7 separate regions of the Homo sapiens genome follow, and regions 2, 3, 4, 5, 6 and 7 are each linked to region 1. Evidence: promoter capture Hi-C in 16 types of primary human blood cells and fetal thymus (Javierre and others, 2016). All regions are on one chromosome and are shown on one strand. The core of a region is centred on a gene start or on the middle of the fragment in contact, and the rest is flanking DNA. Distances in the headings are between cores, read along the strand shown. Region 1 holds the start of CENPU (centromere protein U). Region 2 has its middle 7.9 kb from the start of MYL12BP2. Region 3 has its middle 40 kb from the start of ENPP6. Region 4 holds the start of LOC105377582 (a long non-coding RNA gene). Region 5 overlaps IRF2 (interferon regulatory factor 2). Region 6 overlaps IRF2 (interferon regulatory factor 2). Region 7 overlaps LOC105377582 (a long non-coding RNA gene).

Region 1 (3,647 bases), core at 1-2,500:
AGCAAAACTCCAACTCAAAAAAAAAAAAAAAAAAAAAAAAAGAACTTACTCATGTAACCAAATAGCACCTGCACCCCAATAATTTATGGAAAAATAAAATAAATAAAAAATAAAAGCAATAGCTTTAGTAAGAAAGGGCACTTGCAGCATACCTACCAAATATCATATAAAGTTTAGAAACATACAATAATCAATACATTATTTGGGGCTATATCAAGGTAGAAAACCACAGGAATGATACACATAAAATCAGAAGAGTGGTTATTCTTTGGAGGAGGAGGATACCATTCAGAGGGGTACCCAAGAGTTATATATAAAAATGATCCATATCCCCATGTAGTGCTGGTTACACGGATGTTTGTTTTTATCTTTACATTACACGTTATATTCTTTCATATGCATGAAACGTAATATTTTTGTCGTAGTAAAATATACATAACAAAATTTAGCATTTTAACCGTTTTTAACTTTACAGTATTGTGGCATTAAGTACCTTCACCTTGTGCATCCATCCACCACTATTTCCAGAACGTTTTCATCATCCCAAACTGCTTTTGGTATCATATCCAAGAAATCATACCAAGTCCAATGTTATGAAGTTTTTGCTCTGTTTTCTTCTAAGAGTTTTAATTTTAGCCTTTATAGTTAGGTCTTTGATTCATTTTGCGTTAATTTTTATACGCGGTGTAAGGTAAGGGTTCAATTACATTCTTCTGCATTACACATTTTTAAACACAAACAAAATAAAAGAACAAAAGGAACCCTGTCCATTTACAAATGAAGGTATTGGGATAGCGGTAAAGTAACATGCTAAGCTCAGACAGCTGATAAAGGCAGCAGGGGCTGGAAGCCAAATCCTGTAGGCCTGGAAAGACGACTGCGGCCTCAGCGACAACAGCTGCGAACACGGGTCTCCACCCACCCTCTTACCTGCCCACGACTCAGGGACACTAGCTCCTCCCCTTTCCCCACCCCACAAGGGGCCGTCCCACGTGGCTCCCGGGCTTTCTGGCGCCGGAAAACTGGCGATGCGGGTGGGCGCGAAAGCCCGGAAAACTTTGGCATGTTTTGGACCGTAGGTAACTGGTTGTGCGGCATGGACTCCAGCTCCGTTGCGCTGTAATAACCAGACCCAGTTTTCCCTCACGCTCCAGGCCAGGGAGGAGCCCGGGGGCCGCTCAGGAAGTCCTGCGCACGCGCGCGTGCTCGGCCCGGATTGGCTGTTCGGAGCGGCGAGGGGCTTGGCGGGAGCTTCCAGTCGCTCGAGAGCGGAGAGCGGCACCATGGCCCCGCGGGGGCGGCGGCGGCCGCGGCCTCACAGGTCTGAGGGGTAAGTACTGCCGACCCTCGGGAGCGCGGGGCCGGAGACCAGCTTGAACTGCTTCCTCGCCTGCCGTGGTTTGCGCCTCCCGGCGCTGTTGGTGCTCCACTGTGGAGGTCGCCCGAGTGGCCAATCGCCCGGGTCCCCGGCTTCCTCCTCAGTCTAGTGGGGATAACAGTGATCCCACCTGCACGGGCCTGTCGGGGCCTAACACTGCCTGGCGGGTGGGAGAGACGTCAGCCAGTGTCGTGTCGTTTTGTGGGGAGGGGGAGTGCCGTCCAAAGTAGTGAGTCTCAAAGTGCTAGCTTGAAAGCAAAATATTCAGCAAATACGTATTGCCTGCGGTTTGCCAGACTTTGTTAGTGGAGTTTTATTCTCTGACTGGGAATCAGTTTTCTTATTTTGAAGACCCTGGTGTTTTCTTACTGCAAACCACAGACCGTAAACTGGAGCATAAATCCGGCTGGGGGACCGAGCTGCCGCTTGCGGTTCTCCAGGATGGCTCGAGCGGTTTTTGTTTACCAAAGAAAGCGAGCGTTTGGTCGGTTGCAAAACGCGCTCTAGAATGCTGGTCGCTGATTCGTTGGCGAATGGCCATCCAAGGCCCGGCCTGGATCTGGCGGGAAGGGTCTCGGCTTGCTGCAGACGGTGCACAAAGCCATACGCCAAGACGATCTGAAGAGAACAGGAGTTCCCCCGGGCCTGGGAAGGCTGCCTGGAGGAGGAGGTGCTGGTAGATGCGGGGTTAGGGTGGAAAAGCTGGAGCAGGACACCGCAGGTGGGTGGGGAAACCGAGACCAGACTTCTGTGGCCAGTGGAGGAGAATGAAGACTCCCCCAGTGCAAAAAAGGATTAGAAGAGAATGTCAGCCTTCAATGTCAGCTGAAAAGAGTTTATCTGAAAGGCTAGTGGTTTTTGTTGTCTTTTTTTATTTTTATCTTTTAACATTTTTGGGTTTGAGACTCATGAAATCTGTTCATGCCTCCTCCCAAAACACACTTACGCACATACAACAGAATTTTTTTTTTTTTTTTTTTTTGAGACGGAGTCTCACTCTGTGGCCCAGGCTGGAGTGCAGTGGCGCAATCTCCGCCTCCCAGGTTCAAGCGATTTTCCTGCCTCAGACTCCAGAGGAGCTGGGATTACAGGCGCTCGCCCCCACGTCCAGCTAATTTTTGTATTTTTAGTAAAGACGGGGTTTCACCATGTTGGCCAGGATGGTCTTGATTTCCTCACCTCGTGATCCGCCCTCCTGGGGTTCCCAAAGCGCTGAGATTACAGGCATGAGCCACCGCGCCTGGCCCAGAAATTTTACCTGTGGGTTGTCACAGAGGTTTCTGTCTCTCAGAAGCCCCACCTTGACTCCAGCGTAAGGCAAGGAGGAACCTTGACTTTTTTTCCCCCCCAAGAAAGGACAAGACAGCTCAAAGAGTTTAGGTTAAGAAGTTTATGTGGTCTAGTGTGTAGCTGGGTTTCTGTTACCTGGCTATGTGACCCTTGATAAGTCACTTAAATTTTCTGAATCCCGGAATCATCATCTATAAAATTGCCATAAAACCAATACTTGTCTTACCTGCTTCCTTAGGTTTCATGAATTAAATAAATAAATCGTGAACTTGTTAGAAATGCAGAATCCCAGACCTCACCCCAGAGGGACTGAATCAGACACTCCTGGGGTGGTGCCAAGCAACCTGTTCAACAAGCCCTCTTGAGAATTTTGATGACACTCAAGTCTGGGAACCACCGCTCTGAACAGTTTTCTAACTTTTTTTTTTTAACTGTGATTCACAGTAATGATGTTTTACATCACACTTAGTACACGTGTGCACACATCCACACATAAAACAAAAGGCTTGTGAACATAGTATATCCAGTGCAATGCTTCATTTTATATTTTCCTTTTTTATTGTTTGTTTTTTTAAAAATGCTGGCCTGGCAATCTTAAAAGACATTATAGGACAATTGATGTGATTTGGGTATGGACTGTAGATTAGATTATGGTATCAGTGTTAAATTTCTTGATTTTAGAAATTGTACCATGAATATGCAGTATAATGCCCTCTTAGGAAAGACATATTGTAGTATTTAGGGGTGGAAGTGCACAGTATCTCCAGACACACACACACACACACACACACACAGAGCACATGAGTAAAGGGCATACAGAAGGTCCTTGTGCTATGTTTGCAACTTTTCTGTGAGCTTGAAATTATATCAGATAAAAGGATACTAAAACATTGGTTTAGACTAAGCTGATTTTGCTGTCTACAAATGAGAAAAATATGGCTGCAATCTGCATGGCATATTTTAAAGTCTAATTATGTAC
Region 2 (3,499 bases), core at 175-2,674, 410 kb after region 1:
TTTTATTGTGATGAAATAGACATAAAATTTGCCATTTGAACCACTTTTAGGAGGCCGGTACACTGGCATTGATTACATTCACAATGCTGTGCAACCATTGCCACCATCTATTTCCAAAAATGTTTTCATTATTTTCATCATCCCAAACAGAAGCTCCATATCCAGTAAACAGCAGCTCTCTCTCCCCTCAGTCCCTGGTAACGTCTCTTCAACCTTCTGCCTCTATGAAGTTGCCAATTCTAGGTTCCTTGTATGAGCAGAATCATTCAGTGTTTCTTTTTTGGGTCTGGCTTCTTTCGCTTAGCAGCATGTTTCCAATCAATGTTCATCCATGTCGTAGCCTGTGTCAGAACTTCATTCCTTTTTTTGCTTGTTTGTTTTTTGTTTTTTGAGATGGAGTCTTGCTCTGTCACCAAGCTGGAGTGCAGTGATGCTATCTCGGCTCACTGCAACCTCGGCCTCCTGGGTTCAAGCGATTCTCCTGCCTCAGCCTCCTGAGTAGCTGGGACTACAGGTGCGTGCCACCACGCCCAGCTAAATTTTGTATTTTTAGTAGAGGTGGGGTTTCACCATGTTGGCCAGGATAGTCTCAATCTCTTGACCTCAGGATCCTCCCACCTCGGGCTCCCAAAGTGCTGGGATTACAGGTGTGAGCCACTGCGCCCAGCCCTTCATTCCTTTTTATGGCTGAATAATATCCCATTGTAGGGATACATTTGTTTATGCATTTCTTTCTTTCTTTTTTTTTTTTTTTGGTTAGACAGAGTCTCGCTCTATTGCCCAGGCTGGAGTGCAGTGGCATGATCTCAGCTCACTGCAACCTCCACCTCCCGGGTTCAAGCGATTCTCTTGCCTCAGCCTCCCAAGTAGCTGGGATTACAGGCACCTACCACCACACCTGGCTAATTTTTGTGTTTTTAGTAGAGACGGGGTTTCACCATGTTGGCCAGGCTGGTCTTGAACTCCTGACCTTGTGACTCACCTGTCTTGGCCTCCCAAAGTGCTGGGATTACAGGCATGAGCTGCCATGACTGGCCTGCATTTATTTTTTGATCCGACATTTTATTTGAGAAAATTGTCAGTGATTTATTTTAAAAAGAGCATTTTTTTTTTCCTGATGGGTGTTAAAGTGGATATTCCTTTCTGTTGAATAGGATGTGGTATACAGGTATTAGTGTGAGGCTGATGACTAAGAGCATGTGGCATTTCTGTGAGTGGCACAAGAGCCTAATAAAAATCAGTATCTACCCTGAAATTCTAAGTGAATTTACCTTGTGCCCAGGGCTTTAACTTTTCCCTAGATTCTGGAAAAGCATACTGTCCATGGCCTAAAGTTTGTGGGATGAGAAAGTTTTCACCTGGTGAAATGTTTGTAGGTGATTACATTTTGGGGGCATTGAATTTTTTTAAAATAAGAAATCTAAAATGTGATACATACACACCATGGAGCACTATACAGCCATAAAAAAGAAAGAGATTATGTCCTTTGCAGCAACATGGATGAAGCTGGAGACCATTATCCTACGTGAACCAACTAACACAGAAACAAAACCAGACACCACATATTCTCCCTTATAAGTGGGAGATAAACATTGAGTACACAAGGACTCAAAGAAGAGAACAGCAGACACCAGGGCCTTCTGGAGGGTGGAGGGAGAGAGGAGGGTGAGGATCGAAAAACTACCTGTCAGGTACTATTCTTATGACCTGGGCTGTGGAATAATCTGTACACCAAACTCCCATGACACGTAAGTTACCTACATAACAAACCTGCATATGCACCCCTGAACCTAAAATAAAAGTTAAAAGAAAGAAAAAAATCTAAAAATCTTGTTGACATATTAAATATTATGTGTGTGTGTGTGTGTGTGTGTATATATATATATATATATATATATAATTTTTTTTTAGACGCTGTCTCGCTCTGTCACCAGGCTGGAGTGCAATGGCATGATCTCGGCTCACTGCAACCTCCGCCTCTCGGGTTCAAATGATTCTCCTGCCTCAGCCTCCCAAGTAGCTGGGGCTACAGGTGTGCACCACCACGCCCAGCTAATTTTTGTATTTTTAGTAGTGACAGGGTTTCACCATATTGGCCAGGATGGTCTTGGTCTCTTGACCTTGTGATCCACCCACCTCGGCTTCCCAAAGTGCTGGGATTACAGGCATGAGCCACCGCACCTGGCCAAATGTTATACTTTTTAAAAAAAATAAAAACAAACAAACAAAAAACTAAAATCTACACAAATGATTACTTACTCCTTAAAAATCAGGTAGGACAGCCAGGTGCGGTGGCTCATGCCTGCAGTCCCAGCACTTTGGGAGGCCATGGTGGGTGTCTCACCTGAGGTCAGGAGTTTGAGACCAGCCTAGCCAACGTGGCAAAACCCTGTATCTTCTAAAAATACAAAAATTAGCCAAGTGTGGTGGCAGATGCCTGTAATCCCAGCTGACTATGGGAGGCTGAGGCAGGAGAATCGCTTGAACCTTGGAGGTGGAGGTTGTAGTGAGCTGAGATAGTGCCACTGCACTCCAGTCTGGGCGACAGAGTGAGACTCTGTCTCAAAAAAAAAAAAAAACAAAAGATCAGGTAAGGCGACTTGAAGTTTTAAAACATTTATGCAGAGGACATATTACAGAAGAGAACATGTACTTTTCCAGTTGCAGAATGTTTTCATCTGATTTTCTGGAAGCCCCATGACATAGCAGAGTTCTTTTCTTGCTTATCCCCCTGGTTTTGTTCCATCTTTTGCTACAGCCCTTCTCAACCTACTTCATCATTATGCATTAATTAATCCATATGGTAAGTTAATTAATAATTATCACTGATAGATTAATAAGTATATTAAAAAGAATTATTTCATAATAAAATAAACAATTCATGGTATTCATTAATAATTTAACAATTATGCTACAGGAAATTATTCAGTAATTAATACAAATTAAAATGGATTTCTTTTTGTCATATTTATTCATGATTCTCCAAAAGACCTCCCCCTAGATATTTCTGATTCACCACCAATTGGCTTTATTCTCTTGACACCATAAGAAACAAGCTTTTTAATGCTGGAAACATTTATTAGAGTTGACAGCCGTGCTGCAGAGGCGCGGACTGAATGTTCCAGGCGGATGTTTATGCTCAACTCACGTGTAAGTAATCACTGTAAGTCATCTTACGAAACCCCATGCAGCCTCGGTGCTGGTTAATAACTAAGTTTGTGTGCAAATTTATAGGACTATTTATAGGACTAGGTATTAATGGATCAGACAAGAGAGGGAAGTGAGCTGTAGAGAATTTAAGTTGCAGAGAAGAACTTGAACCCAAGTCCTCACCCCATAAACGCTACTGTTTTCTTCTCTGAATAGTCCATTGACACCAGGGAGTATGGCTTTAAGAGGAGCTTTGCAAAGTTTAGTTGAATTAGCTGATAAAAGTGCTTCAGATGTTAGGAAGCCAGTAGCCACGTCAGGCCCCCATTTACGAGAAAGCTTAGACTAG
Region 3 (3,936 bases), core at 60-2,559, 480 kb after region 1:
ATGTATGTGTGTATATATTGTCATAGTCCCTTTAGACTGCTATTACAAAATACCATAAACTGCATGGGCTAGAAACAACAGAAACGTGTTTCTCACGGTTCGAGAGGCTGGGAAGCAAGCCCAGGATCAGGGCACTAGCAGATTCTCTGTCTCATGAGGGCCTGTTTCCTGGTGCATACATGGTGTCTTTTCTCTGTGTCCTCACATGGCAGAAGGGGCAAGGGAGTCTCTGGGATCTCCTTTATAAGGGCATTAATCTCATTCCTGAAAGCCCACCTTCATTGACCTAATCACCTCCCCAAGGCCTCATCTCCTAACTTTGGGGGTCAGGATTTCAACATGTGAATTTTGGGGGACAGAAACATTCAGTTCATTGCATATACATACACATATATTCACATATATTCACACACACATACTGTATGTATAGATATAGTGTATATATAGTATATACATACTATATGTGTATGCATATATACATAATACAATACATATTGCATATATGTATACATAGACATATATTCACACACATTGTATGTATATATATGGTATATACATACTACATGTATATGCATATATGCATAAGACAATAATATATACTGCATATTGTATATGTATATGCAATATGTATTATTTTATTATGCATATGTGTGTGTATATATGTATTTGAAACCCTATTTTATACATTCACCAGCACACCACTGCTTTTGTGAATGAAAGGGGTGCCATTATCACATATGTCAAAATACCGGGTGAAATCAGGACAGTCCCAGGCAATCCAAGAACCTGTGGTCCTCACCAAACTTTCCAGGTCCAGTCCAGCACACAGTCTCCCTCTGGGCTGCCTTTTTCTTACAGCTCCCTCCCCCACCAGAGACCCTGCACAATCCCTCCAAAAAGGCTCTTTCTCGCTGAGTCCCTTTGCCACAGGGAGTCGCAGGAGCATTAAGTGACCTCCTGAGCAACTGTCTTCATCCTGCTTCATCCCTTTCCCAGGCCCTTCATGGAAGCACCATTTCTGGCATTTATGAGCTCTGAGGCTATAGAAGCATCTCATAAAGTTTGTGGGTCTTAATTTTCTTACTGCAAAACGGGACCAATAGCACCTACCATGCAAGGCTGCTGCAAGGATTAGAAATAGCACGTGTAAAGTGCTTTCTATGTGCTTGGCACAAGATACGTGCTCAATGAATGGCACTGTTTTTGCTATCATTACTGCTCCTGCCGCTACTTTGAGTCTCCCCTGGGGCTCTGATGGTTTCGACTCCTTTCACCCACTCTAAAGCTGAGGGTTTCTCCACCCCTTCCCGTGCCCAGTCCAGACTTGTGGGGTGGTGGTGACAGTGAGGGGTGACCAGTGGTCACTCTGCTCTTTTCCTAGAGGGCCTGATACTTAGGGGTGGGCCTCCAGAAGCAGCTCTGGGTCCTCAAACCTGCCCCTTGCCCTAGCTACATGATCCAGCTGTACGCATAATACCCAAGTCAGGCCAACCAGACCACTTCAGCGCTGCCATGGTGGTCAGTCCAGAGGGCCTCCTTGTCCAAGACAGGCCAATGAGAACCCCTCCCTGCACTTTTCTGAGTTGGAATGAAGGGACGGAGTCAGTGCCCCTGATTGGGAGCTGGAGGTTCAGGAGCTGATGGAGATATGTTGGCTATCTAGAAGAGCCAATGACAGAGTGTCTGAAGCCAATGACAGAGTGAACTAGACTCCAGATGGCAGAAGAGTCCTGCCAGGACAGAGGTCACTGAGGCCTGACTGCATCCTGACCCTCTCTTCAGGCACATTGAGATCTCCACTCCCATCACAAGGCAACATCACAACTCCCCTCCCCACTCCCACTCCTTCCCTCCTTCCCTCCTTCCATAGCCAAAATTTGGACATGGAAATTTAGAGATCGAATAGCTTACTCACTCAGATGTTCAAGTTAGCAGTCAAACCCCTATTCTCTGATCATTTTCCCTCCTTCCTTCCTTCCCTCCCTCCCTCCCCACTGCCTGCCTGCCTGCCTGCCTGCCTTCCTTCCTTCCTTCCTTCCTTCCTTCCTTCCTTCCCTCCCTCCCTCCCCACTGCCTGCCTTCCTTCCTTCCTCCTTTTTCTCAAGTCTCACTATGTTGCCCAGGCTGGGCTCAAACTCCTGGGCTCAAGAGGGCCTCCTGCCCCAGCCTCCTGAGTAGCTGGGTCTACAGGCACCCACCATGCCAGGCTCTCTGTTTTTCTTCATTGAGTCTCCAATGAATGGGAGGCTTTGAGCCTGAAAAGTGTGACACTGTATTTCTTTAAGCCCCAAAGACTCCAAATTACTACCCCTGTGCTTTTGAAGGGTTTCTTAAGGGTGATGTATTTCCAGAATGATTTATAACACCTTTGTGTGCCAGGCAAGACGACTTTGCATGTGTGCTTGTTGTCCAGCCCCTGAGGCTGTAGCAGGGGATTCCACAGGACTTTTTTGGTGGGGTATCACTACCATTTACTCTCAACCTTTGCCTGAGCTAATTCAAGTCAGCTTTCCTTCACTTACGTAACAACAAAAACATTCCTAATGAGTCCTCCTAGAGTCCCCAGTTTCAGGAGAGGGAAATCAGACAGGCTCTGCCCCTGCTCTAGGCAGAATAGGCCCCCATTTCATATCAGGGCTCGCTCTTAGTGGTCTGTGTCAAATGCTCAACAGAAGCACATGTCTTGACCCAAATAAAAGGAATGAGACACCAGGCCCAAGACCAGAGGAACCTGATTCTAGAAGGGTCCTGTGCTCTAGGAGGGTCAGAAAGAACTTCTACTACCATCTTGCTTTAGGAGTCCAAGTAAATAACTGACTGAATACACTTTGCTCTGAAGTAGACATATGGTGTCTGATTCGGGGGAACCTGTGCCTCTGCAGCCCCCAAGTCTGTGGCAGGCATTGCCCATCGATCATGACACGGTCCTTGCAGCTTGGGTGCGCCACCAGAGTGCTTCTCATCACAGGGCTGCCGGCCGGCCCTTCTCTGGTGCTCTTGGTCCTTCTTGGAGAAGGACTCAACGGAGCTTGTCTTCTTGGCTGAGTGGGCCTCCGTGTCGAGAGACCACAGCCTATGAAATGGCTGTTTTGGATGTGGTTTTGTGAGTTCTTGCATACGGATATTCTACAATCCACAAAGCCACTCTAGTGTCTCCAAGTCAAAGGTTAATACCCAGGGAAGGTGAAAATCTCCTTTAAAATTGCTAGTGAAAAGTGGGATAAGCCAGAGGAATATAGAATTAGGTTTATGTAGCAGCCTGGGTTTCCATAGCAACGAGATGCAGTTGCGTCAAACACACGACTAAACTTTTCCACACTGGTTTTTAGCCTGGAAGGAGGCTGGAAGAGGGTATTTACTGACCGTGCAGGCGCAGTGAAAATTTGACAGCAAAGCCCTCCGAAAAGTCTCAGTCAAAGCAAATGGCAATGACTCCCCACAAAAATACCACGTGTCAGCCCCCGCTACAGCCTCGCGGGCCGAACCAGAGTGGCACATATGCAAAAGTGTCTCGCTTGTGGGACAAAAGGTATTGTAACTCATCCTGGAAACACACTACCCTTAAGAAACCCCTCAGAAGCACAGGGGCAGTCATTTGGGGTCTCTGGGGTTTCATGAAATACAGCATCACATTTTGCAGCTCAAAGCCTCCTATTTATTGGGGACTCAGTGAAGAAAGCCAGAAGTGTGATGTTGCCTGGGTAGGAGAGCCCGGCCTGCAGCCTTCTGCTAGCAGCAGCAGGAAACTGCAGCCCTGAATCAGGGCCTTTGTTCTCCTGAAGCCTGCAGGGAGTAGGCCCTTCTGCTCACACTGCCCTTGGGCAGCAAGCGTGTGTCCCTGGGAGCCCATGGTGGCGGCCCCCTAGGTGCAGCAGGAGTTGGGCCTGGAGGCCTGGCTGGGGGCAGCTGGGGACAGCACTCATTGTTTCTGCCCCT
Region 4 (3,576 bases), core at 427-2,926, 440 kb after region 1:
CTCAGATATTAAATAACAACTGTCACACAATCTCTAAGAGGTAGAAACAGAATTCAAAGCCAAATCTGCCCAAATAAAGCTCATTCTCCTGAAACAAATGTCGATATCCCCATTTTACAGATCACAACCCTTTATCAATGAAAACAACTCTGTACAGGTAAGGGAGGCATCCTTCATGAATTCTTCCTCCCGTTTCCACAATTCTTGCAATTAATCAAACAATCTGAGCCAGTCTTCACTTCATGAGAACAGCTGTCTCCAAAATGCTGAGGACATAAACAACTATAGAATAAACTGAGTTTATGGCAGAAAATCTCCTACGATGTGGAAGAAAGGAGACCTTCGTCATCTTTCTCTGTCGTGGACGTCTTCTCAGTGTGTTGAGGTGTGCTCTGTGACTTCCGTGGAAAGGGCATGGCTGTGTCCTTCTATGCATTTTGCAGTCATTCCCATCTGCAAATACCATTCCTTCCATAAATAACAATCACTCATTAACTCCAGGGACTATTGACTTCCCTTTCTTCAATAAACACTTCTGTGGGCTTGCTGTCTGCTTCCTCCTTGCAGCCACGGTAACCATTGTTGGGTAATGCATGGTTGCCAGGCTCCTGAACGGGAGTGAGATTTTTTTTAAACCTGATGTCACATCCAGGACAAACAAGAGAAGTCCTTTTAACCAAATAGGACTCCTATATAACAAGAGTCTTTGAGAAGAGAGTCGTATGACCTAAGATGTCCCCTCCAACTACTTTGGTAAGGGTCCTCCACCCACAGAGATCTTCCTCTATTCTGAGATGGAGAAATAATGATTAGAGACTTTACGCATAAAATGCCTGCTGTGCCAGCATCCATAGGTGGACCAAAATTCAGTTAATCCTCACAACTGCCTTAAACATAGGTACTAATATAATTGCCATTTTAGAGATGAGAAGAGCTAAAATTTGGAACATTGAGCCCTATGTCTAGCGATGAGAGTGAAGCTGGGATTTGGACCCGTGTGAATGATTCTAGGTTGGAGTGTGTGCTGTAAAACACTCTCGCTGGTTCACCTGAAGTTTAGGGCACACATCATTTTCATTATGTGTATTTTACTACCCACTGGCTTTCTTGTTCTAGAGGTGAAAGGATAGGCTCTCTTCTTCTCAATGAGTGAGCTTATACCCGGAAAATACAGACTTTCAGGAAACTGGCAAAACAAAGGCAATCTTTCTCTAACGAGGAGAAAGGGAGAACTCTTGACCAAAAGAGAAAGTGAAGGGCAGCTATGACCAACTGCAAGACCCCTCCCCTCCCCTCCACACACACACTCTCACACACTCTCACACACTCACACTCACACACACACTCACACACACACACAAAAACACTGAGAAAGTGAAGGGCAGCTATGACTAACTGCAAGATCCCTCCCCTCCACACACACACACACACACTCACACACACACACACTCACACATACACACTCACACATACACACATACACACACACATTCACACACACATACACACACACACACACTGTGAGAAAGTAAAGGGCAGCTATGACCAAATGCAAGATCCCCTCCCCTCCACACACACATACACACTCACACATACACACACACACTCACACACACACATACACACACTGTGAGAAAGTAAAGGGCAGCTATGACCAACTGCAAGACCCCCGCCCCTCCACACACACTCGCACATACTCTCTCACACACACACACACTCACACATACATACACACACTCACACATACACACACACTCACACATACTCACGCACACACATACACACACATACACACACTCACACATATGTACACACACTCACACATACACACACACATACACACACACAGACATACACACACACACTCACACATACACACACACAGACTGGGAGGTGCACTGCCCTGATTCCAGCTGGTGGACGGCAGGGGCAGTGCTGGGCCACTCTGGAGTCTCTGAGCCTTTCCATTTCCTATAAGCGGGGATGGTCCTGCTATGGAGGCTGGCTGGACATTCTGGCCTGTGATGGCATCATTCACCAATCATTTAACAACAAACAGCTAGAGTCTAATCACACTCAGACCAATCATTTAACAACAAACAACTAGAGTCTAATCACACTCAGACATTCAAAATCTACCACTTGATTGCAATGCTGCATCGGCCAGCTTTACAAGCGAGGTGTCAATATGGAGAGTGTGTTAGTCCATTCTTGCACTGCTATAAAGAAAGAAATGCCTGAGACTGAGGAATGTATTTTAAGACAGGTTTAATTGGCTCATGGTTCTGCAGGCTGTACAGGAAGCATAGCAGCTTCTGCTTCTGGGGGAGGCCTTAGGAAACACACAATCATGGTGGACAGCAAAGCGGGAGCAGGTGTCTTCCATGGCAGGAGCAGGACCAAGAGAGCAGAGAGGTGCCACAGACTTTTAAATAACCAGATCATGTGAGAACTCACTATCAGGACGATAGCTCCAAGGGGGATGGTAGTAAAGCATGAGAAACTGCCCCCATGAAAAGCATGAGAAACTGCCCCCATGATCCAATCATCTCCCACCAGGCCCCATCTCCTACGTTGGGAATTACAATTCAAATGAATCTGGGTGGAGACACAGATCCAAACCATATCAGAGACCAAAGAAGGACAATCTTCCCATGAAGTTATATTTGCTTAAGGGGCTCCCAAACTGCATTTTCCTGGGGGCCTCTTCTGTGGCAGCATGTCACTACACTGTGAGGCATTATTCCTTGACTATCTGCACCTTATTGACACTCAGATGTAGGCTGACATTCTTAACCTGTGTGAGAGTTTTTAGATTGGTAAGAACAAAAATAAAGGTGAACAACCACACACAGAATTAGTAGAAATAAAAAATAAGCTGTTAATCAAAAGAAAAGAAATGAACTGTCAAAAACGATATGAAAGTAGCCAGTCTTATTCTCAATGAAAGAAATGTAAAATCAATAAGATACTATATTTATTTATCTGCCCTACAAAAAACAAAAGTAAAACCCTTCTGTAGACAGTATAAGAAAACATTTATATATGCTGTAGTGAGAGTATAAATTGGCTTAATTATTATAGAAAGACACCTTGGAAAAAATACCACCTTAAAAGCAATAGATTAGATAGATGAGATAGGTAGGGCTAGGTAGGCGTGCGTGCACACACACACACACACACACACACAGTAAAAAACATACAGTAGTTCTCCCTTCTTCGCCGCTTTGCTTTTCAGTTACCTGAAACCATGCTGTCCAAAATATTATAACTGTGTTCAACTATGGTCCAAAAATATTACATACAGTAAGATATTTTGACAGAGAGAGAGAGAAAAACCCTACTCACACAACTTTTATCAGAGTATATTGCTACAATTGTTCTATTTTATTAGTTATTGTTGTTAATCTTCTACTGCGCCTAATTTATACGTTAAACTTGATCATAAGTATGTATGCAATAGGAAAAGACAGTTTCCAGAAGGTTCTGAAATGCGTGGTTTCAGCATCCACTGGGGAGCTTGGAATGTACCTACAGCAGGTGAGGGGAGACTACTGTGTATATATTGCATGTCCT
Region 5 (3,956 bases), core at 529-3,028, 320 kb after region 1:
TTGAACCCAGGAGGTGGAGGTTGTAGTGAGCCGATATCGCGCCACTACACTGCAGCCTGGGCAACAGAGCGAGACTCTGTCTCCAAAAAAATATATTGAAAACTAGAAAAGAGGCACAAATAATGGAACACACAAGGTCAAATCATCACCTTTGACCTTGGAAAACATTCCTGCTCTGCAAGACTTCACGAGACTGACTGTCACTCGGGGTAGTCTATCAAGATTTGGGATCCAGCGGGGGAAGTGGGTTTGGTTTACAGTAGATTTTCTTGTCAGCAGTCAACACATTCAGCGATGCTTGCTGGGGAATCTTGCTGGCTAGACCTTCACAACCTTTTGCAATGGTGGGCCAAAACCCATGACTCCAGTTCTTTACCTTTTTTTTTTTTTTTTTTTTCAGGAAAAGAAGATTTTTCAGATCCCCTGGATGCATGCGGCTAGACATGGGTGGGATGTGGAAAAAGATGCACCACTCTTTAGAAACTGGGCAATCCATACAGGTACTAAAACTCCCTGCGGCGTTTATAGAGGAAGGCACTCTTGCTTAGTTTTGTTTTTATTACACATAAAATAGCCTGGCTTATGACCTCATGAAGATGGCTCTGAAAAACCTGTGACTTGTCCCTAGGCACATCCAGGACACATGGGGTACAAACTGCAGCCCTCAGAAGTAATGCTCCCCTCATCCCATACACTCTTAGTCCTTCAATTTCCTATAAATGTGGTATTCTAAGAAGTTCCCTAGGTGTTACCGGGGAATAGAAACTCAGTTGTTCTGATGCTATAAACTTTGGTCAAATTTATCTCCCCCCCAAAAAGGTAGTCAGAAATACCTGTATTTATTACAACCTTTACGTAGGGAGCTGTTTACAGGAATGGACTTTGTTGGAGCGTCAGATGAAAAAGAGGCACTCAGCTTCCCTCTGCCTGTTGACTTTGCAGCCTCTCAGTCTTCTATATTTTTCTTACGCTGATGCTCCATTCTTCCAGCATTTATAGTTTCCTCAAGCTGTTCAGTAGAACCAGGGTGACCAACTTGTCCCAGTTTGACTGGAACTGTTCAGGTTTTAAAAACAAAATTCCCACATCCCAAGAACTTTCTCACCCCCAGGTACACCAGGACGATTGGTCACTGGAGGTATAGCATGGAGTGAAAAGGTTTCCTTATACTGCCTGACCAGCAATACTGTGTTTCCAGAAATTCCTTCCTCTGTATCTAATGTTTTCTCTCTTTTTCTTAATCTTTGTCTCTTTTGTTAGGAAAGCATCAACCAGGAGTAGATAAACCTGATCCCAAAACATGGAAGGCGAATTTCAGATGCGCCATGAATTCCTTGCCTGATATTGAAGAAGTCAAGGATAAAAGCATAAAGAAAGGAAATAATGCCTTCAGGGTCTACCGAATGCTGCCCCTATCAGAACGGCCTTCTAAGAAAGGTAAAGGCATTTACAGACTAAAATAAGGTAAATCAATTTGTGTCATCGTGCCTTCGTGATCTCTTCATTTCTACATCTGCAGTCAGTTTGCAGGTAGAATAGCCTGTTCATGCTGTAGGGGATCATTCCGCCCCTACCTGGCTTGGAAACAAGACTTTCGATTCACCAGAGGCAGTGAAAGATACATGTGGAATTTTGACCATGTACAGATTAAAGCAACAGGTTCATTGAGAGTTTCAGAAAGAATTTAATTTGAGGGAAATGTTTCTCTGGAGGCCCTTCGTGAATTAATCCAAAACTACATTTTTGTTGCCACAGGAAAGAAACCAAAGACAGAAAAAGAAGACAAAGTTAAGCACATCAAGGTAATCTTGGGTGATTCAGAGAGAAAGCCAAAGTTGGGATCCTATTAATGACTCATATTCTGCCTTGTAAAGATGAGTCACAGGACCTCAGTGTGTCCTCTTTCTTCCTTTGCTTGTGTCTTCTGTGCTTTACATGTTTGCTCTTCAGCATGTATCCACTTGCAGACATGGAGGTACACAGGGCCCTGCCTCATCCCGTTTCTCTGGGAAATTTATGAATGAAGTCACAGATTCTCACTGTGCTCGGCAGGCTGAGGCCTCCATCTGGCCACCACAGCCGTTGCCAGTGGTCATTTTGTGCCAGCTAAACTCCACAACAGCTTATTCTCATACTATTAAGTATATTTTCAGGCTATTAAGTATACTTTAATATGTATTAAATGTTATAGACCTCTATACAATGTATGAACTCTATGTTACAGACATTCCGTCACAGGCCCTTTGGTGGGGGACAGAGTGGTCAATGTCAGCACTCTATCAGAACAGCTCTCAATGGCTGCCTTCTGTCCACTGTAGAATCATCTCTCACACCCCACAAGGGTTTTCCATGGGATGTGCATGTGTGTGTCAGCTTCTCACTAGGCTGTGTCGTCTGAACTCCCCTACAGTCTGAGGATCTTTATGCATAGATTAGGTGGCCCTTGTTAAATAGTAAGAGAAGAGCCGAATATGCCCTGCAAAACTGGGGACGAGCTTCAGTGGCTGAGCAGAGAGCATACACTGCGGTCACAGACCCAGGGATCTCAGAGAGATTGTCGAGCTCCCTGGCCTCCCTTTGCAGATGAAGAAATTTAGGCGGAGGGTGTTTTTGCAGTGATGCTTTCAGTTTCACTTTTACTAGTTTTTATTTTTAACTAAATTTAAATATTGTACTGTATTAAAGGCCTAATTTTGTTTTAACTTTTCATTGTGGAAAGATTTTATGCACATAGGAAGGAGACAGTTGAGTAAAATTTACCCCATAGGCCATCATTCAGATTAATTTTAACCTTAATCAGCTCCTGGCCAGTTTTGCTTCATCAATAGCCCCTCCCATTTCCTGACTTCTAACATGAAATTGCAGCCCTTCAACCATTTTTGACTTACAGAAGTAATTTATTTATTTAATTTTTTTTAAACTGAGATGGAGTTTTGCTCTATTGGCACAGGCTGGAGTGCAATGGCGCGATCTTGGCTCATTGCAACCTCCGCCTCCTGGGTTCAAGCGATTCTCCTGCCTCAACCTCCCGAGTAGCTGAGACTACAAACACGTGCCACCATGCCCAGCTAATTTTTGTATTTTTAGTAGAGATGGGGTTTCACCATGTTGGACAGGCTGGTCTTGAACTCCTGACCTTAAGTGATTCGCCCACCTCAGTCTCCCAAAGTGCTGGGAATACAGGCGTGAGCCACGGCACTCGGCCCCAAAACAATTTTTTATAGTTCAGCTTTTTTTTGAACTATTTTTTGGAATTTGAAGCAAATTCCAAACCTCATAGCATTTCTTCCATAATAGTTCAGTATATATATTTAAAAGATAAGTGCTCTGTAAAAATACCATGATGTCATTACTGTACCTGAAAAAGTTCACAGTAATTTCTCAATATCAGTGAATATCCAGCCAGTGGTCAGAGTTTCAGTTGTTTCATACATGTTATAACATTCGTGTAGTTTGTTACTTAAATTAAGACCCATATAAAATCCACATGTGATTTTTGAATGTCTTTTAAGTATTTTTTAAGGATATATGTTTCTCCTATATTACCTCTTAAAACATTTTTTTTTTTTTACAATTGAACAAACCTAGTTGTTAGCCATATCGTTTCTCACAGTTTTTTTTTTCGTTTTTTTTTTTTTTTGTTTTTTTTTTGAGACAAGGTCTTACTCTGTCACCCAGGCTGGAGTGAAGTGACGCGATCATAGCTCACTGCAGCCCCAACCTCCCGGGCTCAGGTGATCCTCCCGCCTCAGCCTCCCTCTAGTAGTTGGGTCTACAGGTGTGTGCCACCAAGCATGGATAATTTAAAAAAATTTTCTTTTATAGAGGTGAGGTTTCATTCTGTTGCCCAGGCTGGTCTCAAACTCCTGGCCTCAAGTAATCCTCTTGCCTCGGCTTCCCAAAATGTTGGAATTACAAGTGTGAGCCTGGCTGAGTTTGTATTTTTAAGGCCTACG
Region 6 (3,423 bases), core at 881-3,380, 350 kb after region 1:
ATGGGGCGTGCACAATGGCAGAAAGTGGCTGGAATGGAGATGGAAAGCATTCCTGCTGGCCACCTGCTGGGGGTCTGCGCTTGAGTGAATGAGAGAGAGAGAGGGAGGGAGCAAGAGAGAGGGAAGCTCATGGTTGTTTGAATTAGTGGTTTCCCATGTACTAAACACTTTGAGAAAAAGTGCAGGGATTCTGAAAAGACAGATGTACACGCTCCCATACACCCTGGCCTGATTTCTTCAAGGTTGCAGCTCTAGCCACTTCTCTGAATGAAGCCAGCCCTGAGGCCGCTGCTTGCTGTACACCGTGGAGCTCTAAGCCGCCCCCATTTGAAAGCAATCAAGGGGCATTCATTGCCTGTCACTAAGTTCCTCGCTGCCTTTTCTCTGAAAATGCAGGTTGGCTCAGGTTGACTGGGCCAGCATTGAGGGACCGAGTCGCTGTGCCACACTGGCCATGGTGACCTGAAACCTATCGAATAATCGGGCCGAGCCGCAGAGCACAAGGGAACCAGAAACCAAGCTGCTGCCTTCTTTTCCTGCCTTCACAGAGTAGTCTGGAAAGTATTTCTGGGAGGTAGCAAATGGGAATTGATTTTTTAAAAAAAAAGAAAAGGGAAGAAAAACCATTACTTGGCATATGAATAGCTGGGTGCAATAGATTTCAGTTGAGGGATGTAGAGGTGCTAAGCCTTTGTTCATTCTGCAGTTCTTAAGAAACTCAGCTAAAGCACCAACACATGGGAACGACACATTTTTCATTTTAAAATTTTTTTTGTGGGTTGTTGTTTTGAGACAAGGTCTCATTCTGTTGCCCTGGCTGGAGTGCAGTGGCGCAATCATAGCTGACTGAGGCCTTGACTTACTGCGCTCCAGTGATCCTCCCGCCTCAGCCTCCCGAGTTGCTGGGGCTAAAGGTGTGCACCACCATGCCTAGCTAATTCTTACGTTTTGTAGAGATGAGGACTCGCTACATTGCCCAGGCTGGTCTCAAACTCCTGAGGTTAAGTGATCCTCCAGCCTCAGCCTCCCAAAGTGCTGGGATTACAGGCATGAGCCACCACACCTGGCCAGTGATGCATTTTTAAAAAGCCATCCAATAGAAGGAGAAGGAAATACATATCTTAATTACTTTCTTGAAAGGGGCGGCCACACTGGCGGAAGAGGAATATTGAAGGCAAACAGTACCTCAGCAACATGGGGACTCGAGGCTCCTACCTGCTGCCCGGCATGGCGTCCTTCGTCACTTCCAACAAACCGGACCTCCAGGTCACCATCAAAGAGGAGAGCAATCCGGTGCCTTACAACAGCTCCTGGCCCCCTTTTCAAGACCTCCCCCTTTCTTCCTCCATGACCCCAGCATCCAGCAGCAGTCGGCCAGACCGGGAGACCCGGGCCAGCGTCATCAAGAAAACATCGGATATCACCCAGGCCCGCGTCAAGAGCTGTTAAGCCTCTGACTCTCCGCGGTGGTTGTTGGGGCTTCTTGGCTTTGTTTTGTTGTTTGTTTGTATTTTATTTTTTTCTCTCTGACACCTATTTTAGACAAATCTAAGGGAAAAAGCCTTGACAATAGAACATTGATTGCTGTGTCCAACTCCAGTACTGGAGCTTCTCTTTAACTCAGGACTCCAGCCCATTGGTAGACGTGTGTTTCTAGAGCCTGCTGGATCTCCCAGGGCTACTCACTCAAGTTCAAGGACCAACAAGGGCAGTGGAGGTGCTGCATTGCCTGCGGTCAAGGCCAGCAAGGTGGAGTGGATGCCTCAGAACGGACGAGATAATGTGAACTAGCTGGAATTTTTTATTCTTGTGAATATGTACATAGGCAGCACTAGCGACATTGCAGTCTGCTTCTGCACCTTATCTTAAAGCACTTACAGATAGGCCTTCTTGTGATCTTGCTCTATCTCACAGCACACTCAGCACCCCCTTCTCTGCCCATTCCCCAGCCTCTCTTCCTATCCCATCCCATCCCATCCCATCCCATCCCATCCCATCCCGCTCTTTTCCTACTTTTCCTTCCCTCAAAGCTTCCATTCCACATCCGGAGGAGAAGAAGGAAATGAATTTCTCTACAGATGTCCCATTTTCAGACTGCTTTAAAAAAAATCCTTCTAATCTGCTATGCTTGAATGCCACGCGGTACAAAGGAAAAAGTATCATGGAAATATTATGCAAATTCCCAGATTTGAAGACAAAAATACTCTAATTCTAACCAGAGCAAGCTTTTTTATTTTTTATACAGGGGAATATTTTATTCAAGGTAAAATTCTAAATAAAATATAATTGTTTTTTATCTTTTCTACAGCAAATTTATAATTTTAAGATTCCTTTTCTTGTTTATCAGCAGTTGTTATTACATCCTTGTGGCACATTTTTTTTTTTAATTTTGTAAAGGTGAAAAAAGCTTTTATGAGCTCATGTAGCAATCAGATTTTCCTGTGGATTGATAATAAATGAATATGATATATAGTTAAATTTTTAAGGGGCATCACTCCTGGCTTTGTCTGTGTCTGCTTTAAAAGAGCATAATCACGGAATAGGACTGACAAAGGATTGTTTCTTTTTGGGGACCAAAATGTTTTCCCTTGTTGACCACAAGAAACCGTGGAGGTTCTTACTGTGAGGCTTCAGTTGACTTCTTCTCTTGAGTGCTCGCCTGAGCAGGGGCCCGTGCTGAGCGTTTTGCATGACTTCCCGTCTTCATTCATCACACTTGTGCTGTAGAATAGGCATTCATCTCCATTTCATGTGGAGGAAATGAAGACTGAATGTGAAGATGCCTTTACTTGGCTCATAGTGGCACTAAGAGGCAAGGGCACAAGTTGGGCACAAGTTGAGCCCAATTCTCTGTGCTATGAAGGGGGTCTTTTTTCTTGTAAGCATATCCGTTATCTCAAATGTCTGTCTTCCTCTGTGTTGGGAGCATTCCCTGTGGAGGGGGAGTATTTTAGCCACGCCACTGGTTTCCTTCTCTGCTGTGAGCAAGGTTCACCCCACTCTGTGTCTTTCCTGTTTTCATCCTTAGGCTTACACGTACGACAAACGTCTTGTGTTTATGTCACTTAGAGGGGTGCATGGATAAGACATTTTCCACAACAGGAAATATGTATTGGGCTCTAACACCATGTCCGTCACTCGTCTTTCTAGGACCCGAGGCCTTACACATAGACCGTGCCCTCAAAACTTGGGGTCTGTCTTGTGGAATAAAAGGGGTGACTTCAAGAACACCAGTCTTTATCAGCCACTTGGTGTTTGAAGGTATAGTCTTGGCCTGGAGAAAGCCACAGCACCAGCCTCCCCTGCATCCCCAGTATCTTACTCTGTAAAATCAGAATATGAAAACTTTGCTACCCGCCTACTACCTCTGGGGGGTTGTGGAGGAGATTGCTAAGTTAATATTTGAAGAGGTTCCTTTAATGA
Region 7 (3,849 bases), core at 74-2,573, 460 kb after region 1:
GCCTAAGCTGGATCTCGACCCCTTTTAGCCACAGCTGAAACTGGAATGGCTGGGATGCAGGACACCAAGTCCCAAGGCTGCACAGAGCAACAGGTCCCTGGGCCAGGCCCAGGTAACCATTTTCCCCTCCTAGGCCTCCAGGCTTGTGATGGGAGGGGCTGCTGTGAAGTTCTCTGACATGTCCTGGAGACATTTTCCCCATCGTCTTGGTGATTAACATTCAGCTCCTCATTACTTGTGCAAATTTCTGCAGCCTGCTTGAATTTCTTCCCAGGAAATGGGTTTTTCTTTTCTATCACGTCATCAGGCTGAAAATTTTCCAAACTTTTATGCTCTGTTTTTCTTGAACACTTTGTCACTTAGAAATTTCTTTTGCCAGATATCCTAAATCATCTCTCTCAAGTTCAAAGTTCCACAGATCTCTAGGGCAGAGACAAAATGCCACCAGTCTCTTTGCTAAAGCATAGCACGACCTTTATTCCAGTTCCCAACAAGTTCCTCATCTCCATCTGAGACCACCTCAGCCTATACTTCACTGTCCATATCACTATCAGCATTTTGGTCAAAGCCATTCTACAAGTCTCTAGGAAGTTCCAAACTTTCCCGCATCTTCCTGTCTTCTTCTGAGCCCTCTAAGCTATTTCAACCTCTGCCTCTTACCGAGTTCTAAAGTTGCTTCCACATTTTTCCGTACCAGTATAGCAGCACCCCACTCTTGGTACCAATTTACTGTATAAGTCTGTTCTCACACTGCTGTGAAGAAATACCTGATACTGGGTAATTGATAATGAAAAGAGGTTTAATTGACTCACAGTTCCATATGGCTGGGGAGGCCACAGGAAACTTACAATCATGGCAGAAGGCACCTCTTCACAGGGCAGCAGGAGAGAGAATGAGTATACAGCGAAGAGGGAAGCCCTTTGTAAAAGCATCAGATCTCATGAGAACTCACGGTCATGAGATCGGCATGGGGGAAACTGCCCCCATGATTCAATTATCTTCACCTTGTCTCACCCTTGACACGTGGGGATTATTACGATTCAAGGTGAGATTTGGATGGGGACACAGAGACACACAAACTATATCAACACCCTTTAGTCTTGACACTCACAGGTACTTGCCCAAATCCACAGGGAAAAGCTTGGCTCAGTTGCTGGGGTGTGCCATCCACACATTCATCACAAAGTAAAATAATGCCTAACAAAACTGAACACCTGACTCTTTTCCTGAAAACTTTTAAAGCATTAGGCCTATCAAGTGTCATGCACAGCTCAAGAGGAAATGCTATCTGGAAATCCCCCAACTCCCATGGAAATTCCCAGCTGGCTCCCTGTACACTGCAGATACCTGAAGTGGTTTTGAAGACTGGGCAGCTAAGACCTAAGTGAAGAAGAATTCCTCCCCTGCAAGGATGACCAAGAACCCAGCCGCTCTGTTTCCTTCCCGACTGGAGTCCTCTTCTCCACTGGTAGGCACTGACCCCTGCAGAAGCTGCCCCAAGCTTCTGGGACCCAGTAGCACCTTTGACGTGGTGGTCGGTGTTCCCAGTAACATCTCCTTTCTCTGCAGCACCCAGCTCTTAGACTGAAAAGCACAGAGCTTTCCCCACTTCCTTTAATAAACTCAGGAAAGAGTGGGGCTTGGATGGGCTATTTCAGCAATCCGGAACACTTAACAGGCCCAAATACTTTTCTATTTCATGCCTCAGCCCAACTCAGGCAACTCCTATTTTCCTCCTGGAAATGAGAAGTGGACATCCAGGAAGGGCTGTGGAAGAGGCAGAAGTCAGGAGGCTGCGGGTAACTGGGGGCGAGTCGAGTGGTTCTGAGGGCCAGTGTTAAGGTGTAGGCAGCAGAACAGCAGCGAGGGTGGGGTAGGCAGTGGAGTATTAAGAGGGACTGTCACCGAGGGGCAGCTCCACCTGCCCCAGCTGTTGGTCTCAAAAATAAACCAAGCCAGATGCTAGTTAAGTGGTAAAGAAGGATTGTAATATCTATTGCAATAGGGAGAAGGCCCAGCCCAGACTGAACTCCAGTTTGATTTGTGCAGTAGAGACTGGGCGTTTTAAAGGGAGAGTGAGAGAATTGGGCAGGGGTGACCAGGGCTCAGTGGGGTCAGAGAAGTGGAAAACTACAAACAGCAGAGCGGGCTTGGTCCATGAGAAACCCACCTGGGTTTGTTAACAGCCTCCCTCACAGACTGGGGCACAGGGGCCCGATCTCTGGGTGTTGGCTGGAGCAAATGGCAAACTTGTTTGGCAGCCTTGTGTGTCCTTGGGATTGCCTCCCAAGGACACCCAAGGTGGCTGGGGTCACCTAGGGATGCGGCCTTGAGCTATGAGAAGCCATGCTAGTGTTTGTCCAAGTCTTTCTAGGCCAGGGTTGAGGCCTAGTTGAGAAGAGGGCTCAGGGGAGCCTCAGTCGAGTTTGGTCCAGGAGAGAATCTGTCACTGGCCTGAAGTGGTCTCCTTCATACTGAGTGTCCTCAACAGTGGCTTTGATTCTGGGGCCAGGCTGCTAAACACATGGAGCTGATAGTCAGGGCTGTGCTGAGCTGGGAGCCTGACCACATGATTCAGTGTCCTTGGGGTAGGGCTCAGAAGGGTGATCACAGATTTCAGCTCCGACCCAGTATGCACAGATGGTGAAAGGGGCGGCCCACTCTGGAGCCACGGCCACATCCAGGCTTTGGGGTGGAGTTGGGGCTGGCTGTTGGTTCTGCCGAGCCCAGGGGGAAGATAAACCCTTTCCTCTGAGCCTCCATTTCCTCGCTTGCAAAATGAGGACAGGGCCTTTCTCCTGGGGCTGGTGGATCAGAGAGAAGCATTCCAGTAATGTGAGTAGCACTTAATTAGCATTCAGTAAATACTCATTCCTCTCTTCCTTCAGAGGAAAGTTCAGGCAGTGTCTGATTTAATAAACAGGTTAAAGACCAAAATGCCCCCTGTAAGTTGGTTGGTTGTAATTTAGAAATGTATTATATTTAGATTCCCAAGACCACTCATAAACACTCATTTATGCTGTGTGTAACTTAGAAACATGTTATATTTAGATTCCCAAGACCACTCACATTCATTTATGCCAGATATGGACACTTCACCACAGGCTTATAACAAAAAGTACAGAAGAAAAAAACAATCTTTTTGCCAGCTTGTTTCCATGTGCCAGACGTTTGTGAGTGAGGGGCCCGAACTGTGAAGGGTGCCCATGCTGGTGCCTCCTCCCGAGAGTGCAGAAGGCAAGCACCCGAGCTCAGCTCTTGTCGTCCTCACCCGGAGTTCCTGTGAATGTTAAGAGAACACAGCTTAGTGTCAGCTTTGAGTTCACATTTTGACTCCCCTGCTGAGTAATTCTGTGGCATGGGGCAAGTCATTTAACCTATCTAAGCGTCAGTTTCCTCATCTGTGAAATGGGCTAAGAACAGTCACTCCTCAGAGGGTTCTTTCGAGGGTTAAATGAGAAAACTCATGAAAAGTGCATGGTGGAGTATCTGGCCAATCACTAGGCCAAGTGTCCCCTTGGGGCGTTCATCTCTGTGCTGCAAGAGCTTGCTGGCTTGGCGTGGTGGCTCATGCCTGTAATCCCAGCATTTTGGGAGGCTGAGGCAGACCGATTTCTTGAGCCCAGGAGCTCGAGATTAGCCTGGTCGACATGGCGAAACTGCATCTCTGCAAACAATCCAAAAGTTAGCCAGGCATAGTGGTGTGCTCCTGTAGTCCCAGGTACTTAGGAGGCTGAGGTAGGAGGATTGCTTGAGCCTGGGAGGTCAAGGTTGCAATGAGCTGAGATAGATTGCAACACTGCACTCCAGCCTGGGCGACAGAGGGAGACCCTGCCTCAAAAGAAAGAA

Evidence for each region. The method cuts DNA at HindIII sites, captures the fragments that hold promoters and counts their contacts. A CHiCAGO score of 5 or more calls a contact.
Region 2: a fragment that was not itself captured here is called in contact with the fragment with the promoter of CENPU in region 1 in 1 of 17 cell types (neutrophils); the score reaches 5.2 in neutrophils.
Region 3: a fragment that was not itself captured here is called in contact with the fragment with the promoter of CENPU in region 1 in 7 of 17 cell types (non-activated CD4 T cells, activated CD4 T cells, total CD4 T cells and 4 more); the score reaches 8.0 in non-activated CD4 T cells.
Region 4: a contact is called between a fragment that was not itself captured here and the fragment with the promoter of CENPU in region 1, in 1 of 17 cell types (activated CD4 T cells). The highest score is 5.2, in activated CD4 T cells.
Region 5: a fragment that was not itself captured here is called in contact with the fragment with the promoter of CENPU in region 1 in 1 of 17 cell types (naive CD8 T cells); the score reaches 5.0 in naive CD8 T cells.
Region 6: a fragment that was not itself captured here is called in contact with the fragment with the promoter of CENPU in region 1 in 2 of 17 cell types (total CD8 T cells and activated CD4 T cells); the score reaches 6.1 in total CD8 T cells.
Region 7: a fragment that was not itself captured here is called in contact with the fragment with the promoter of CENPU in region 1 in 3 of 17 cell types (total CD8 T cells, total CD4 T cells and erythroblasts); the score reaches 5.4 in total CD8 T cells.

Annotation. Positions count from the first base shown.
Region 1 is chr4:184,731,699-184,735,345 of GRCh38, reverse strand. It overlaps CENPU (centromere protein U), which reads left to right and starts at 1,250. Exons shown (of 13, transcript NM_024629.4): 1 at 1,250-1,330. The coding sequence starts at 1,284. RefSeq lists a silencer at 1,244-1,303 and enhancers at 1,674-1,793, 944-1,810. The HindIII fragment of the contact is 4,927 bases long and covers 1-3,647 here.
Region 2 is chr4:184,320,499-184,323,997 of GRCh38, reverse strand. No RefSeq gene overlaps it. Among named protein-coding and RNA genes, the nearest start is that of MYL12BP2, 7.9 kb to the right of the region's middle. The HindIII fragment of the contact is 3,269 bases long and covers 1-3,058 here.
Region 3 is chr4:184,255,467-184,259,402 of GRCh38, reverse strand. No RefSeq gene overlaps it. Among named protein-coding and RNA genes, the nearest start is that of ENPP6, 40 kb to the right of the region's middle. The HindIII fragment of the contact is 5,367 bases long and covers 1-3,936 here.
Region 4 is chr4:184,290,726-184,294,301 of GRCh38, reverse strand. It overlaps LOC105377582 (a long non-coding RNA gene), which reads left to right and starts at 690. Exons shown (of 6, transcript XR_939552.3): 1 at 690-753. It overlaps LOC124900825 (a long non-coding RNA gene), which reads right to left. Exons shown (of 2, transcript XR_007058413.1): 2 at 1-608. The HindIII fragment of the contact is 9,454 bases long and covers 1-3,576 here.
Region 5 is chr4:184,416,013-184,419,968 of GRCh38, reverse strand. IRF2 (interferon regulatory factor 2) reads left to right here. Exons shown (of 9, transcript NM_002199.4): 3 at 401-500; 4 at 1,261-1,437; 5 at 1,756-1,802. Among named protein-coding and RNA genes, the nearest start is that of LINC02362, 36 kb to the right of the region's middle. RefSeq lists enhancers at 749-1,948, 1,827-2,126, 2,317-2,486. The HindIII fragment of the contact is 6,751 bases long and covers 1-3,956 here.
Region 6 is chr4:184,386,784-184,390,206 of GRCh38, reverse strand. It overlaps IRF2 (interferon regulatory factor 2), which reads left to right. Exons shown (of 9, transcript NM_002199.4): 9 at 1,141-2,478. The coding sequence ends at 1,449. Among named protein-coding and RNA genes, the nearest start is that of LINC02362, 6.2 kb to the right of the region's middle. RefSeq lists enhancers at 1-336, 337-1,070, 3,076-3,423. The HindIII fragment of the contact is 195 bases long and covers 2,033-2,227 here.
Region 7 is chr4:184,273,440-184,277,288 of GRCh38, reverse strand. LOC105377582 (a long non-coding RNA gene) reads left to right here. Exons shown (of 6, transcript XR_939552.3): 3 at 1-112; 4 at 1,243-1,468. LOC105377584 (a long non-coding RNA gene) reads right to left here. Exons shown (of 2, transcript XR_007058414.1): 2 at 3,027-3,280. Among named protein-coding and RNA genes, the nearest start is that of MYL12BP2, 39 kb to the left of the region's middle. RefSeq lists enhancers at 890-2,089, 3,027-3,196, 3,487-3,536. The HindIII fragment of the contact is 361 bases long and covers 1,143-1,503 here.